Regions from separate parts of the Homo sapiens genome. Here region 2 is linked to region 1. Evidence: promoter capture Hi-C in 16 types of primary human blood cells and fetal thymus (Javierre and others, 2016). All regions are on one chromosome and are shown on one strand. Each heading gives the region's core, a stretch centred on a gene start or on the middle of the fragment in contact. The rest is flanking DNA. Distances are from core to core; before and after follow the strand shown. Region 1 holds the start of FGF5 (fibroblast growth factor 5). Region 2 has its middle 30 kb from the start of BMP3.

The links. The method cuts DNA at HindIII sites, captures the fragments that hold promoters and counts their contacts. A CHiCAGO score of 5 or more calls a contact.
Region 2: a fragment that was not itself captured here is called in contact with the fragment with the promoter of FGF5 in region 1 in 1 of 17 cell types (naive CD8 T cells); the score reaches 5.1 in naive CD8 T cells.

The regions. Positions count from the first base shown.
Region 1 is chr4:80,264,602-80,269,869 of GRCh38, forward strand. FGF5 (fibroblast growth factor 5) reads left to right here and starts at 2,063. Exons shown (of 3, transcript NM_004464.4): 1 at 2,063-2,578. The coding sequence starts at 2,224. RefSeq lists enhancers at 1,758-2,289, 4,032-4,602. The HindIII fragment of the contact is 3,016 bases long and covers 1,992-5,007 here.
Region 2 is chr4:81,057,942-81,062,825 of GRCh38, forward strand. No RefSeq gene overlaps it. Among named protein-coding and RNA genes, the nearest start is that of BMP3, 30 kb to the left of the region's middle. The HindIII fragment of the contact is 2,350 bases long and covers 2,162-4,511 here.

The DNA.
Region 1 (5,268 bases), core at 813-3,312:
CAGTGCAGGCGGGGCTGCAGAAACTGAGAGAAGGGAGCAAAGACAAGAGGCTGATAACAGCTCCAGAAACTGGACTCCAGAGTCCTCTTGACCTCCTGGGTTTAGACAGGGGGCTGATAGTGCAGCTGGGGCAGGAACCACTCTCCTCCTCTTTCAGCAGACTCCTTGGGAAAAGGAAAGGGAGAAACAAGCAGCTGGATTTGCTTTGGAGAATCTTCGTCACTTGAGGAATGGGCTGTGTATTTGCGTGGCATGGGGGAACTTACAAATGGCATTCAGCAGCATCAATGTGGCTTAAACCCTGACAGCTTTGCCACAGACCTCAGGGCATTGCCTGAAGAAGGAACAGCACCCAGGTTCAGAACCATCCTACAATCATCCTCCCCAGAAGAAGGTGATTTCAGTCAAGTAGACCATTCTGAGAGATACTGTGACTGTTCTCAATGTCTACTTTTAGGGTTGCCTTGTAAGGATCTGCCTACCCACCCTAGTTAAGGGAGAAGTATATAACTTGAGCCTAGAACAGTGGACAGGGGGTGTGTTCAGCTCTGGACAGTATCTCATGTAGTGTGCCCATGTTATGCACATCTATGTGTGATGTCCTCTTTCTTTATCACAGTGGTTTTACTACACTTTCCAGGTAACCTTCTGTTTTACAAGTACTTTGATGTTACTCTGGCGGTGGAAGATTCCAAACCTGAAAAATCTGCATTGTTTTATATGCGTTTCATTATTGAGATGGAAAACCTTAAGTAGGTACTCAATAATGGGTAAGGCCGTTTCTTAGCTTCAACCTTGGTTCATCTGAATTGACCTTATCAGTCAATAGCACGGGCCGTTTCATTAAAATAACCAATGAATAATGTATCATAGCTTAGTTTAAAGTTTCAAATATGTTTTTAGACAGAAACATTCCAAGCATGCAAGTCAGGTGTATTTCCCAGATAAATAACAGTCTGGGGACGTTGCCCGTACAGGGAAATTCTCTGTTCTCAAGGAAATTTTCCCTTCTCGGGTTTCCTGAGGTTGAAATCCAGCGCGCACGTCATTAATCATTCACTGAGGTCGGTCCCTCAGTCAATGGCAGGTCTGGGTAAGCTAAAGCGAGCAGTTAGCTAACCCTTCCTGCCACGGGGATCCTGGGGCGAAAGAGGACAACTGGGCGGTCAGTTACATGTGCTGGTGTCCAGCCGCTGCCTCTCTTTCCCCGGTCGGAGCGCGGGGGTGCGTGTGCCCTCACTCTCACGAATACAGACGGAGAGCTTCCCAGAAGGAAAAACAAATTCGTCATAATGTTCAGCGCAGCCGAGAGTTTCCAACAAGAAAGCAGCTCCAGTCGTGGCATGATGACTCAGGGTGGCGTTTTAAACGCTGAATAAACCCATTCCTTAGCTCTTTAATAAATCGCTAATAACAGCAAAAACAGCCTTCTCCCCGAACCGCGCCACACCAAAGGCTTCCCAAGTTGGGCTGCGAATCCCTGTTTGGTTTTCCAACGCCGAAAGACGTAGAAGCAGTGGGATCTCCTGGTGGGACGCATTTCTCCAAGGGCTCCCAGAGAGAGGACGAGATAGCAGGGTTTACAGGGCAAAGAGAGGAGAACCTGGAAATCGTGTCCTGGGGGGCAAGAGTGCGTTGCCCAGTCACAAGTGTGCTGTAGAGGTGGGAGAGGACAAGGACCCATTTCCACATTTCAACCCTCCGTTTCTATCGCTGCCCCTGGAGGACTCAGCTGCTAACGCCGAGCTCGTTTCCACGCGGCTCTGGTCCTAGTCGGGGAATCCGGGTGGCCGCGCGACGCGAGAGAACTGCTGGGATGCGTGGCCCTGGTATGGGCGCACCCAGCGTCCGGGGCGCAGGTTCTCTCAGCCCAGCTTCTCCTCCCACTCACTCGCTCGGATCTCCTCCCTCCTTCACATCCCCCGCCCCCGGGACCGCGAGGCTCCCTCCCCGCACCGGCCAGTGAGTACACAAAGCCGCGGGTGAGGGGAAGCTTCGCAGGCGTGCACGGAGCAGTGAGATCACTGGCGTTATAAATATCCCGGTGCCAGCGCGGAGATCCGCTCGGGTGGCCTCTCTCTTCCCCTCTCCCCTTCTCTTCCCCGAGGCTATGTCCACCCGGTGCGGCGAGGCGGGCAGAGCCAGAGGCACGCAGCCGCACAGGGGCTACAGAGCCCAGAATCAGCCCTACAAGATGCACTTAGGACCCCCGCGGCTGGAAGAATGAGCTTGTCCTTCCTCCTCCTCCTCTTCTTCAGCCACCTGATCCTCAGCGCCTGGGCTCACGGGGAGAAGCGTCTCGCCCCCAAAGGGCAACCCGGACCCGCTGCCACTGATAGGAACCCTAGAGGCTCCAGCAGCAGACAGAGCAGCAGTAGCGCTATGTCTTCCTCTTCTGCCTCCTCCTCCCCCGCAGCTTCTCTGGGCAGCCAAGGAAGTGGCTTGGAGCAGAGCAGTTTCCAGTGGAGCCCCTCGGGGCGCCGGACCGGCAGCCTCTACTGCAGAGTGGGCATCGGTTTCCATCTGCAGATCTACCCGGATGGCAAAGTCAATGGATCCCACGAAGCCAATATGTTAAGTAAGTTACTCGCTCTCCTACAAAACCCGTCCTAGGCGGCCGCGGAAGATTCGGGAGGGACAGCAGGTATTCGCCGGGACACAGGCTCACCTTCCTGAGCCCAGGCCACTGGGACCAAGCTGATACTCAGAAACAGCCGGGCGGGTTGGGTGGAGATGCATCTATATGGCGTGCGCACACGCACCCCTCTCCTGGGCATGAGGAATTGCGATTTCTCAGGTGTATGTTACCTAGAGGCTGGTGCCCAGACGGGTACCTTGTTTTCAGTTTGCTCTAGCCTCAAAGACGAGTCCCCAGCCATGACAGGAGAGAACAAAAAACTCATTTCTTCTCACTCAATTTGTTTACCTTCTGCTTATGAACTAGCCTGGCATTTTTCATTAGGCATCAAAGGCAGCCCTTCTCCCTATCCATAACTGAAGTTATTTTTTGAAAAGAAGAATCAAATCCCAAATACTTCCCTCTTCCATCCGCTACCATAAACCTCAAATTAATATTGTATATGTATATGTATATATGTATATAAGTCTATGTATACAATGTATACACATAGGTAGATAGATAGATAGATAGATAGATACACAGATAGATAGACAGACAGATAGATAACTAGGGGACACCAGACAGACATTCCTGCTTGGAAGAAGATTGTGCTCTAGAAAACTGGACGCGTTTAGAGAGGGAGACATGATAAACATTGAAATTACTAACTCCAGAGTTGGATTTAACAATGTTTAGTATCTTGAGACCATGACTACACCGTATTAGGAGAGTGGCCAGCCTTTGGTCCCCAAGAACAGTTAGGGGAAAGTTCCTTATTTTAGAAGAAACGCAGAGGTTAAATTTGGTAGGGGTGCAGATTTTGTAGGACTTTTTATAAACAAAGTTTTAAATTTTCCCTCTGAGTTTTTTCTTTCAGCACGCTCTCTTTTTTCCTTTCTCATCTCCTCTTCCCTTCCACCCCATCTATGTTTCCAGACCATCGCAGCCACTCCTCTGGTTTCTCTTCACTGCCTCTAGGCAGCTGGGGGCAGGGACGGTTTGGGGCTGTGAGTAGGAGTGGGGAGATCTCTGTGGGGCTTTTGCTCAGTAGGGCCAGATCGCTCTTCCAGCGCGGGTTGGTCCACCAGGCAGAGCCCCAGCCAGGGCCTGTCAGGTACCCAGGGAGACCGGAAATGTAGCCAGGAGACAGCAGCGCTCACAGTCACCTGGTTTCAGTGTCAGCCTGGTTGCTCCTAGATGTTCCTAACTTGCTCCATCTCAGACCAAAGACTCCACGGGCCATTGGGCTCCTTCTTACACAGGCTCCAGAGGAGCGTGGACACCACCGGCGGTCTGAAGATTTGGCAGCCAGCAGTCTCCAGAGGGGGGTCGGAGGCGCGCAAGTGGGTAAGGCGGTAGGCTGGCTAGCCTCCTCCGGTGGGTTAAGGGGGCCTAATGCGGAAGACCTGATGGTTCATGCTGAGAGAAAAGCAGGTCTATGCCCGCCCCTCTGCGCCTGTCTAGTCTATCTGATCGCGCTGATTCAGCAGCCTGCGGCGCACGTGGTGAGGGCGCCTGGAGCGCCCAGCTGGAGAGAGGGCCCTCCGCACACGCACCAGCGAGTCCCAGGGCCTCCCTCACACTCCCGAGAGGAATCTATTTCCATATTTTAGAGTTTATTTCACTCATCGAATAACTGCTCATTTGGGGGATAAAGGGCAAGATCTGTTGGGGTGAAATGGAATTTTCTGAGATTTGAGGAATAATCAGTAACATCTATTTATTTCCATTCGTCCTTCTCATTTTGTCTCAACGGTCTTTTGACTCCATCAGCCATCACAGCTTATTCCCACTTCCGGCAACCTTTCCTTCTCTCTTACAAGAAAACTTTCTTTCTTCTGTTCTTCTTGTAACGACCCGTGGAGTCATTGGTCTGAGATGGAGCAAGTTAGGAACATCTAGGAGCAACCAGGCTGACACTGAAAGACAGGTGACTGTGCGCGCTGCTGTCTCCTGGCTATGTTTCCACTCTCCCTGGGTACATGACAGAGCACCAACAGAGGATAACTTCCGTGAGCTCAAGGGCGGACCCCAAACTAGCAGGCAGCAAGCAGCAGGTTGGAGCCCAGGGAGCTCAGAGAATGCTTCTGGGGAGGGTTTAGGTGTGCTAGAGATCTCAGAAAGCAAGGCTCATTCCCAGGATATTCACCATCTTCTCTACGAAGACACTATATGAGACGAAGGTAGTTTTACAGCTTAGGCCTTGCTAGAGGGGGTGTTGTAGAAAAGCAAAGGGGGGAAAATAAGAGCAGATCAAAAAGAGTGCACCCAGATAAACAAGACATTGACCACTACCCAGTATGTAACATGTACATTTTCTTTTAAAATCCATGTTGAAAGATATCTACAAGAGAACAGGGATGTTTCCTAAAACAGTGCCGACAAAAAGCTTAATTTAAACTTTTTCCTAATTTATTCTTGTTTACAATAACCTTTCAGAGTTTAGTTTCTGTGTCTTTCACATGACTTGCTTTCATTCATGCCATAAATCATGTACCCAATATAAGATACCTATCTCACTAAGCATGATATTTTGGTTACTTTTGTGTTGTTTGTCTTCCATAGAGTTTTTTTTTTTTTCCCCAGAAGAAAGCATAGCAAATATTCAAATCATAGTAATTTTCTGCTTTGTGATATCTGGAGTGTCT
Region 2 (4,884 bases), core at 2,087-4,586, 790 kb after region 1:
ATATATTCTAGCCATTTTTTGTTTAGGCCATAGTTTTTTCTTTAAGGAAAAAAAATGACCTGAAATTAAGAAATAAAATATGCTTTTATATTATTTTTATTATTTTAATCCATCTTTGTAACACTGTGTATGTTTGCATTTTGGAACTACAAGGAAATTTTAAAGATCATCTTGAACAAGTTCCTTAACTTCTCAGTGCCTCATTTATCTTACTTATAAAATGGGACAATAAACTTTCTGCTTCTTAGGGTTGTTACAAGGTTTAATGAGATAATACATGTGAATGACTTAGCCAAGTGTCTAAAACAGAATAAAGACTTAGTAAATATCAATTGTTATTATTTTTACTATTATCTAATGTAGTCTTCCCATTTTCCAGTGAGGAAATGTAGACATGCTATACTGTAAGTTTGGATGTCTACCCATCATGCCTCCCTTTGGAACTGGCCCCCACCAACAGGAATGGTTCCTTGACACATGACAAAATTGGACCAATGCTGGTAAAGCTGAGAGGTTATTTAGCAGCATGGCTGGCAATGGAGGCTTCCAGTGATTTTTAGCAGGCATGTGGAAACGTTGTAAAAGCTAGTTGTGAAGAGAGAAGAATAAATTGGCCAGGGATAGAGCATTGGGCCTTGCATAGTAAAAAGAGTGGCTGCTCTGTTTCCTGATGATATTTTAGTTCCTGTATCTTTTTCTCATAAATCGAACTTTGTGTCCTTGGTTTGCACTGGCTATCCCTGAAAACTCAACAATTACTCACTTGTACTTATGCTGGTTTAAGCCAATATCTGTAACTTGCAACCAAACAGTATTGACTATGATATACTGGAGTAAGTATGCCCAATTGCATAAGACTAGCAACTGGAAAAACTGGTATTAGAATTCTTTGTAACATTATGGAGAGAGCATCTTCCTTGAGATAATACCACCTTGAGTTTGAATTCTGGTTCTTTCAGTTAGTAGCAGAGTGATGTATGCCTTTGAGGAATATTGATGGAATCATCATACTTTCAGGGTAGCCAGTTTTGTGACTAATGAATACTTTCAAAAGAGTTGCCTCAGTTCTCATGCCAGAGGATTGTCTTGAAATACCACTTAGAATTGATCTTTGTAGCTATTAGAAGGTATGGTGGGAATTAAGGTTAAGAATAAGAACGTTGAGCACACATCCACTTAGTATTACCAAGGATTGCTCACATCATACAAAACTCTATTTTAGTGGGTAGAGATGTGCTTGATGATATAAAGCATTAATGCCTACATTGTCTGCAGTCTCAGAACTGGAAGTTAGCTATATGTAACTATTAACAAGTGAATATCAACCAGTAAAATGAAAATATATTCACATAGGAAAAGCACAATGTTACAGAGTTATATATATTTACATCCACAACATACAAAATGTGAGAACCCCGTGAGCCTTCCCTTCATACTCTTTTGTTCACAAAAAGTGGATGTTCTCACAATATGATATTTAAATTTTAATTTGGGTTATATTTGTTTTTTTCAATTGCATTTGAAGCAACATCAGAATCTATGGCAATGCTAAGCTCTGGGCTTGAGCACTTTCCTAAGTTCCTTCACCTCTTACATGTCCTAATTTTCTCCAGGTGGTGGTTAAAAATTCCTTTTTGCTCTAGTATACCAGAATCCATGAGTCAAACATCCATATTAAATCACAACTTATAAATATTTTTCTCCTGATCATGTCTTGGGAAAAAAAGCAACAACAAAAGTCACGATGGAAGGGAAAGAGAGAACACAAGAAAGGACCAGGGTAATAGATCATCCGTCCCTCAACTTAGGAGATTGTTGATTCTATCTCACTTCTATCATGTGATGGGGTTTGTGAGACTCTTCTACTTTTCATACCTACATTTTATTTACAGCATTCTTCCTCTTACTTTAATAATAAAAAGTAGGTGATATTATTTGTCTTACTATATTTTAACAAATAACTAAGGCATCTAATACCTTAACGAAAAACAAAGCCAAATGAATTGTAGAAAATAGACTAAAATATTATATATGTGTATTTCTGGTATATGAAAGTTTATTTTTATGCATATTGTATTTCATAGATACAGGCTTACAGGCAGACAATTTACGTTAGAATCTCAACTCTGTCACTTACTGTAGGACCTTGGACAAGTTATTAAGCTTCTTTCTGTTTCCATGTCCTCATGTGTAAAATGAGAACAAAACACAGAGCCTGCCTTACAGGGCTGTGAAAATTACTTGAGCCTTTATACATGAAACACTTATAAATGTTCATAGCACAAAGTAAATATTCTTCGAAATTTGCTTTTTGATTTTTTTAAATGCATTTTATACACTTCCATGAATGAGTCCTCATTTGACCCTGAGAAGTATTGGTGCGTATTATCCTCACTTTACTGACCCAGGAGAATAACTGACACACCTTAGGTCAGAACCATGCTAGTAGCATCAGGGCTGGGATTCCAGCAGCGATAATCTCACCCCAATTGTCCTATTCTTTTGCACTTCACCTCAGTTGCCTCTACTTAAAGAAAGCTGCCAGAGTAATTTCACCCATCTTTCCTTGGAGTCCTGAGAAATTTGAGGAAAATAGACTATCGCATCATAAAGAAAGCAAAAAAAAGTTTTAATAATGGGGTAATGTTTGATTAGTGTTGGGATCTGAGAACTTTCCCCTGAGTTGAACTTCCCCACCCAATTTCAGGTCAACCCGGGTGGTACAGAGATGGTCTCAGTGAGTTGAATTTTTGGAAAATGGAAAAATGTGCATTTTGAGTAAATAAATTCTGAAAAAGGGAAAGTCAAAGTGAGGCTGAACTGTGTACTCTCAGTTCCCATTTCTTCTCATCGTCAATCAGATATGTCTCTCCCCTTAAAGAGAAAGGATAGGGACAAGAGCAGAAAATATTACTTCAACACCGTTTCCACCCAGAGAGTACAAAGGAATTCCTGTTCCTGTCTAAGGAGAATAGAGGTAGTATACTAATAAGAGCCTCCCCTTCATCTCCACAATGCCACTAAACAGGAAATTCTGGCCTTCCCTACACGCCAAAAGAACAACAGCACAGGTGACTTAAACTTTAAATCTTAACATGGCCCCACTAAAAATATGAACCAATGGTCAAACCACCAGCTTTTACCCTGTCATCGGTAGGATCATTGCTCCTTCTCCCATGGGGAAGAGCCATGAGAGGAGGAAGAAAAAAACAAGAAGTATCTCCCAGCACTGTTTTCTCTTAGCCAGTGGGGTGGAAGTTGAGCGCCCTTTAGAGGAAAATGAGAAATGGGGTAAAAGTGACTTGCCTAACATATCTTGTGATATGAACTGTCTCTTATCTTTTTAAAATTAAAATAAACATAAGTTATGAAACTTAAGCAAACACTATATACAGTAATCATTTTAGGTAGTTGGGATTTGTTTTATTTTCATTTTTTGGTATGAATTTCCCTGCCTTGTGTACCATGCCTATTTTCTCTAGGTCCATCAGAGGATGTGGAAAGAAAATCCATCTTTGGTTTGCTTCAAGTCCAAGGCCATAGTTGTCTGAGTATTTGAGATACCTCCCATAGAGAAAGAGAACTCTATTTTGCAAGACAGTTGGAGGCTACTCTGTTGATAATTAACAAGGTCAGAATACCTGAGAAGCATTATTTTTACCCTGCCTGCTCAATTTTAGTTGGTGGCAACTTGATTTGAGTTTATTCCTCATTTCTTTTTGTTTCATCAAAATACTGCCTTGAGGGCAATAAAAAAAATCCAATCCCAGAAAATGTTAAATCAGAGAGTAGCAGGTGTTTTCTTCCCCTTATTCCCTTGATCCCAGCCCTATACTCAGACACACACACCGCATACACACACACATACACACACATGTCCTAGAAAAAGTTAAATCAGCGGGTAGCAGGTGTTTCTTCCTCATGTTCCCTTCATTCCAACCTGCTCACAACTGGGAACTGGGGATGGGGGAAGGAGGGAGGAAGAAAGGGAAAGAAACCGAGAGAGAAATGCCTAGCTCTACTAGAACATCACAGAAGCAGGGAGAGAAATATGGTCATGATCCAACCCTTTGCTCAAAATATTATGCTGAACCTTTTCAGATTCAGCACATAGGCAAACTACCACCAAGTTGCAATGAAAACCAACCCCCACTTCATGGGGGCTCAGGCCAGATGTGAATGCAGCAGTCCAGAGGTGAGGCAATTATGTGCAAGAATCATGTGAAAGAGCATTCCCCAAAACGAACTCACTTAAGGAAAACATTTGGTGTTTACAGGACTTCAGCCCTGTTTTCTGGAGATTTTCCATCACTATAAACACTGACATATACACACATGAACATAAGTGGGTTTTTTAAAATGGGCCTAGAATATGTGATTTCACTAAATTATCTCATTTATTAGAAATGAAAAAATTAATGGTATAATATCAAAAATTTGGCAGCTGAAACAGTCACATAGACAAATACTGAATGGAAGCCAGTGCCCATAGGCTGGTGATAATACATGGAAGCTTGGAACTGTTAGTAATCTTCAGATGATTTTGTAATGCAGAGGTAGATGACCTGCCTAGCTAGGGAGTGTGTGTGTCAAAACCGGCCCCTTGGAGCTCTGCTTTCTGCTTCATTTGATTTGAAAGCCACCTTCTAACACATCCAAGGAATAGCAGCATATTATAAAGAGAGGCTTCAGGTGTGATAGGATAGGCTGAGAGCATTTCAAAGTCCCTTTGCTTCTAATGTCATCAGCAGTTCCCATTTCTTCTTTCACAGTGTAATGGGGTAGACTTTAAATTCTATCCCACTTGAACTAGTTACAGAACTGAGATCTATAATTTAACATTAGATGAATGAGATTTCTGTCTTGTAGCAAGCAGACTCCTCT